2 separate regions of the Homo sapiens genome follow, and region 1 is linked to region 2. Evidence: promoter capture Hi-C in 16 types of primary human blood cells and fetal thymus (Javierre and others, 2016). All regions are on one chromosome and are shown on one strand. The core of a region is centred on a gene start or on the middle of the fragment in contact, and the rest is flanking DNA. Distances in the headings are between cores, read along the strand shown. Region 1 has its middle 23 kb from the start of HTR4. Region 2 holds the start of SPINK6 (serine peptidase inhibitor Kazal type 6).

Evidence for each region. The method cuts DNA at HindIII sites, captures the fragments that hold promoters and counts their contacts. A CHiCAGO score of 5 or more calls a contact.
Region 1: a fragment that was not itself captured here is called in contact with the fragment with the promoter of SPINK6 in region 2 in 1 of 17 cell types (endothelial precursors); the score reaches 5.8 in endothelial precursors.

What each region holds. Positions count from the first base shown.
Region 1 is chr5:148,675,999-148,679,524 of GRCh38, reverse strand. No RefSeq gene overlaps it. Among named protein-coding and RNA genes, the nearest start is that of HTR4, 23 kb to the right of the region's middle. The HindIII fragment of the contact is 166 bases long and covers 1,953-2,118 here.
Region 2 is chr5:148,201,277-148,204,778 of GRCh38, reverse strand. SPINK6 (serine peptidase inhibitor Kazal type 6) reads right to left here and starts at 1,737. Exons shown (of 4, transcript NM_205841.4): 1 at 1,625-1,737. The coding sequence starts at 1,682. The HindIII fragment of the contact is 4,979 bases long and covers 510-3,502 here.

The DNA.
Region 1 (3,526 bases), core at 786-3,285, 470 kb before region 2:
ATCAGATAACAGATAGAGGGAGAGGACTTTTTAATTCAGGACAGCTACTATTTATTGAGCAACTATTAGATGCTAGGCAATAGCATCTATTAGATGCTTCATATGTATCACCCCATTTAATCCTCTCTACAACAGTATCTTATTCAAACAAAAAACTAAGAGTTTGCTTCTAACAGGCCAACACAGAGCAGGATGATGCTTAGCATCAGGATGAAAGTGTGAAGGGAGTAATTAAGAATGCATTCTTGGCCTGGCACGGTGGCTCATGCCTGTAATCTCAGCACTTTGGGAGGCCGAGGCAGGCAGATCACTTGAGGTCAGGAGTTTGAGACCACCCTGGCCAATATAGCAAAACCCCATCTCTACTAAAAATACAAAAATTAGCTGGGCCTGGTGGCTCGTGCCTGTAGTCTCAGCTACTTTGGAGGCTGAGGTAGAAGAATCGCTTCAACTCAGGAGGTGGAGGTTGCAGTGAGCCAAGATCACACCACTGAACTCCAGCCTGGGTGACAGAGTGAGACTGGGTCTCAAAAGAAGAAAAAAATGCATTCTTATTAGTTCATGACTATGCAATGAAATGCTGTTGTTTATTTTATTCACCAAAGACTTTCCAGCAGCCTTCCTAGTCCAAAAATAAGCCACTCACTATTCCATGTCACTGCAGCTGAAATCCTATGTTTAATTATAAAAGATAGTGGAGAAGAATGAGATGGGAAAGGCCAACTAAGGTTGGTAAGGACTTAGCAAGTATGTGGAGAAGGGTATGTGTTTGACCCCAACTTATTAGCCCAGGGGATGGTTCATGTAGTTATAAACACATGAGTAGTTTGGAAGGGTGGGTTGAAGGAAATCCATAGAAGGACATTATTTTATGATAAAGTCATTGTTTTTGCTTGCAGGAGAGGCAGAAGCCAGATACATAGTGACAGTTATAAGCAAAGGGTAGGCAACATGGGAAAGAGACAGGATGAAGACAGAGCCCACCACAGAGCAAGGTGGAGGTTGCCTGAGAATGAGGAGGGCCCAAGGATGTGTGCAGAAGAGAAAGCAAGTGGTGGAGGGAGGAAAGAAGGAGAAAGGAAAGGAGAGGGGAGAGAGCAAGTGAACATCCAGCTATCTCTTTAGTTGTTCTGCTTAGGTCTCTCAGAGTTTCCTCAAAATCAATATTTTTTACCTTCTTGAAAAAGCAAGTTCAACTTTATTTGAAACACTGACTTTATCACAGAATAAAATAGGGTTGAGCTTGCTTTTATTCTGTCATAGAATTCTAGAATTCAAATTTTCAAATAAATTTTGGTGTGTCTGCTTTCAAAATATTTCTCAGCCACATTCATATTGTCCAGTCTCTACTACCACCATCCTTATTTAAACCATTATCATCTCTTGCTTCACTGCTTGAAAATCTCATAGTTAGCTTTCACGTTTTTTATTCACCTTCCAAAACTGTTATCTTGGAGTAACTGCAGTGATCTTTTGAAATGGGATTATAGCACATCCCTCCTTAAAATGCTTCAGTGACTTCCCATTGCCCTTTGAGCAAAATCTAAATTTTCTCTGTCATACATAGTCAATCTCCTCCTGTTCAGCTCTGCTGCAGCCACACGAGCCTTCTTTCCATTCTTCAAGCTCCTGATTCCCTTTTTCTTGAAGTCGTTGCACCTGCACTTCCTTTGGGCTGGAACAGTTTACCTCCAGCTCTTTGTAGACCAGTCCCTTCTCTTCCTCTGGGTCTAACATTAGGTGCCTCTTACTGAGTGATGCCCAACCCAACGACCCCTCCGTTAGTCTCCATAATAGCACCTTGCTAGTTCCTGCATGTCACTTGAACAATTTGTAAGACTATATTTATTTGTTTGCTTGCTTTTCAAGTTGTCTATTTACCCTGTTAGACTGTGTACTCCATGAAGAAAGACTATCTTGGCTCTTTTAGTCACTGTTGTGTCCCTGAAGCTTAGCATGGTGTCTAGCACATTATTGTTGGCATGCAGTAAAGATTGGCTGAATGAATAAATAAAAGGAAGAAAGAAAATCATAGATCTAGACGATATTTTATATCTGTATATATACATACACATACATCTATATATATATAGTATTATTAGGATTGGTGAATAAGCTTTTTAATTAACAAAGAACCATAATTTTGTAAGCTGTTTTAAACATTCTCCTATGGCAAAGAAAGGGCAGCAGGTATAATTGAGCACTTGAAATAGTAACATTCCTTTACTTTGTAAAATGATATTTTTAGTGCATTCATTTCTCCTCTAATTGTTGCTGCATTTATTTCAGTTCCCATGGGAACCTAGAGAAGGACTTTCCCTATATTCCCCACCTCTTTGGGCTTCAGCAAAAGAAAATGGACCTCAAGGGAGTCTTCAAGAGCTGCTTCAAAATTTACTGTTCATCAAAGCACTTGCTGAAGACTGGCTTCATTTCAGAGGCTGTGCTGTGTTATGGAGAAGGAGGTGAAGGAGATACGGTGCTTACCATGAAGGAGAGGTGGCCACATGAATGCATCGTTTTAATACAGTGCAATAAGTGAGGTGATGAGCTTTGCGCAGATTTTATGGAATTAAGGAAAGAGGTCAGGAAAGCTTTTAGAAACTGTAGAGACAGTGCCTAAATTGTGTTTGAAGTTTGTCCCGAGTCAGCAGATGAGAGAGGGGAGGGAAGAGTGGAAAGCAATCTAGGTCAATTATCTTCCTATTTCAATTCAAAAGCATAAAGGAGATTTAAAACACAAAAGAAAAAAAATGAGAGGAATTAAACTTCAGAAAAGTAAAATACACAGTCGTCCACTGCTTATGTCCATGTGGGAAGGATGGATATGGGCCCAGCTAAAGAAAACTGTGAACTGTGGAAGAAAAAATTCCCACACATTTGTCATCCTGGGTTTTCCCAAGTAAAAGGGGTCAAATAGCCACCTTTGGGATGCATCCAATAGTCCCATGTAAGAGATTTTCTTAGGGTGCGGGGTGAGGATTATGGGGGAAGAGATGTACCAGTCTGAAAGGGAGTAAGCTTGACCACGTGGCTTAGTGGCATCTCTGAAACCAATAGGGATAATGATAATGCTGTAGTCCACATGGTTGGTCCAGAAATGGTGTTTTCATCAAAAGAACACAGTCTAGCAATCTACAGCTATTTCAAAATAACCCAAATCTTTCGTAAGTATGTCTCAGCAACAGGAAGGTGCAACATAATTTCCAGGAACATTCAAATTCCCTCTTTTCCTGCTTTTTTCCCACCTGCCTCTCCAACTTCAGGTGCTGCCTTCAGTTTCTCTGCTCTTTAACTCTCTCCTCAAATCCTCATGTCCTTTTTATTACCCCATCATTTCCTCTTGACCTCAAATCCTGCTATCTCAAGAATTATAAGGAGGACCTCCCCATTTGGATGGGGGAGGAGCCTCAACAGCTAATTATTTTAATTAAGTCACATTCTCATTAATTGAATCACTGGGACCTAATTCTGCTACAGACATAGAATCTGATAGTGTGAGAAGCAGAAGGAAATCGGATATCTT
Region 2 (3,502 bases), core at 488-2,987:
ACGGAGTCCAATTTAGTACTCTTTTTATTAAACTTTATTATGGCAATAATGTTAATAGACATTTGTTAAACATGCACTATACCCCATCCACTATGTTAAGCATTGTACATGCCTTTTTCTCATTTAATTCTCCACACAGAGATAGTCCTTTATATGTTTATTTTATATATAAGTGAAATAAACATCAGAGAGTTCACAAAGCTATAAAATGAAAGTGCCAGGGCTAAAATTCACTTTACTCTGTTTCAGCATTAAGGCCCTTAGGCATTATGGCCTCCCAAATACTATCTAGTATGTCTGTGAAGCATCCATGCTTTGGTAAACTGTATTAGTCAACCAGATCCTGTTAAAGATCAATTCACCTTTGTAAAGAGAAGAAAAGGAAATAACAATTGATTTCTGAGACTATCTTTGCAGCTAAACTTTACATAGTCAGATATATATTTTTCTGCCATCTCAGCAACTGATTGAACTACCCATTAAGGTTATTTGGCTTTAGTAGTCAAGCTTACTCCATAATATCACAGGAATCCTTTACCCATTTTTTTTGTATTTCTAAGTGTATTTGTTTTTGTAATTATGACCAGCTACAGTGAACACTGGCTTCTCTATCAGCTAAATCTCATTGATTTTTTTTTTACTTGTACATCCATTTAAAATCTTGCATAGTAGTAAAATTCATCTGCTACTGTCACACAAAATGATACATAAGATATGGAAGGTCCCAGGGCTTAGTTTTATTTCTATTATTTTACAAATGACAAAATATCTCAGAAAATTATGTTATTTCTTTAAGTGACACAGGCCATTAATAGAAGAGATGAAACTAGGTCTTAGGTCTAAAAACTAGCATTTGCTTTGTGCCCTACAACGTGAAAGAGTAGAATAATAAGGAAGAAAATAGCTTATGATGGACCTGCTCATTCCGATGGTTCTGTCTTAAAAAACATAACCTTGAAGTATGATTGTGCTTTGAACCTCACTAAAGTGTCCAAAGATATTCTCCTTCTCTAAGATTATTTAGCTCACCAGAAACATATGTTTCTGCATTCTAAGTTTCAATTACATATTTTCAAAGATTTTTCTCATTGAGTTTCCAATTTCCCCATTGTCTTAATTTAATTATTTGAATGTCTTTGTAATAATAACTAAGGGGAGGAAAATATTTCTTTGTTCTGGAAAGCAAAACCAATATTTAATGCAATTATCCATCCTCCAATCTAGTTTTATGGAACAAACATTAAATGTGATGGCAAGAGAATCTGATTCAAATTCCAGATTCTAACTACTAGTTGCAAGTCTTTTGCTGATTTTCTCAATTTCTCTGTTCCACAGTTTCTTATATGAAGAACAGAGATAGAAATACCTTATTATGAGTCTCAGAGACAATACATAAAATCCCTTCGTACATGCCTAGAATATAGTATATGCTCAACAAATCACAGTAATTTTAATAATTATTACCATAACCATTGTCGTCATCACAATCATTATCATCATTATGATAATCTCTCAGAATTGGTCTTTTACATCAAAATCATTAGGATTTAAAATATGATAAACAACTACTCATCATATCCAGTTCAGTATAAATATGGGATCTTAATTTTAAGAAAAAACTTACCTGTTAAAAAGCAGAAAAGAGCCAGAGAGAGGAGCAGAAACATGCCTGACAGTTTCATTGTGTCAGTTAGCTCACTCAGATCAAGGCTGCTTTGTCCAGCTGAGGTTCTCTGTCAAGACAATTCCCAGAAAGCCCTAAAATACATTCAGACCACATGAGTCCTATGCAGTTTATGCATTTAATGGGGCCTGCCAACACATTAAAAAAATGCTTCATGCTCCCCATCAATCTTAAAAATTGGGACAATTATGTGTGTCGCACCTCAGATCTTATTAATAGAGAATGTCATTTTCTACTGGTAGCCTACATTTTCCTAACAACCAATACATCCTCCCGGCTCTTCTTTCTAAAGTTTCACTACATTATAGGGATGATTCACTGGTTGACTTCCACTTGATTCTTATATTTCTTTCAGACAGGTCCTACATGTCTGTGGTCCAAGTGAGTAACCACAGGATAATGGAATCTTGGGTGTAACTTGGATTTTTAGAGTCCAGATCATCCAAGGTGTACCTAAAGGAGACAGATATTCCACACTGTAGCTAGAACTGCATTAGAAGAAGCATTTTCTGAGCAGGAATCAGCTTATTAATTTTTAAATCATTATAGCAGTCAAATGCCAGTGGTTGTCCAGTTTTGAGTCAAAATAAATAGGGAAGTCAATTATTTTCTTTAATTTGTAACAAAAATTTGTTTTTTAAAGTTACTGAATTTAATTTTCTTTTTTTTTTTTCTTTCTTTTTTTTTTTTTTTTTTGAGATGGAGTCTTTCTCTGTTGCCCAGGCTGGAGTGCAGTGGTGCAATCTTAGCTTACTGCAGTCTCTGCCTCCCGGGTTCAAGCGATTCTCCTGCCTCAGCCTCCCGAGTAGCTGGGACTACAGGTGCCTGCCACCATGCCTGGCTAATTTTTGTATTCTTAGTAGAGACGGGGTTTCACCATGTTGGCCAGGCTGGTCTCAAACTCCTGACCTCATGATCCGCCTGCCTCGGCCTTCCAAAGTGCTGGGATTATAGGCGTGAACCACTGTGCCTGGCCTGAATTGAATTTTTGAAATGAGCAATATATTTCCTTTTACTTTTCATATAAAAGTTAGATGAATCACATTATCTTTCATGGCCAATTTAATTGCAAGATAGATCAAAGAGTGCGATGCCACAACCTTCTTTCAGGAAACAGCAACAAAAAAGAATGGTTGTAGTGATAACAAGAACGTCTACCTCAAATCATAAACTGCTATTGAAAATATCATGAGGGAAATCATCTTAAAGTCCTTTACAGAAAGATGTAGGTCAGATGTTAAAAGTATTCAAAGACACTACTGAAAAACCTTAAAAACTATATTTAAAATTTTCTTGAATCCTTTATGGGAAGAGGAGTCAAAATAGCTAGAAAAACAAAATATATGGGAAATTGCTTAAGTCATGAAATTTAAAAACAACAGTTGTACAATTTACCCATTTGTGATCTTTAAGTATGTTTTCTCATTCATATGAGATAATATAAAGATCAGTTCCTAAAACTAAAGCATTGCATAGCATGGTTTTAGGTACTGCTGTGACCTTCCTCCCTCTTTCCATTCTACTTCCTATGTTTCTTCCTTCTTTGACCACCTTTTTTTCCCTCCTTCTGTGACTAGAATGTACAGAATTAGTCTAATAATAATCATGTCCAAAAGTGACAAAAGTTTGAAAGCATAAACAAATAGTAATAAAAAAAATCAACATAACAGTGGTAGTCGATCATATGCCATCATTAAATTCACGGTGATGTTTCTAAACTTCCTGTTTAAACTTCTTCCTCTCTCCCCAGAGTTTCATTTTTGGTCCTTGCTTCTCATATTCACCTCTACACTCTCAGTCACTGTTCACCTAAATATT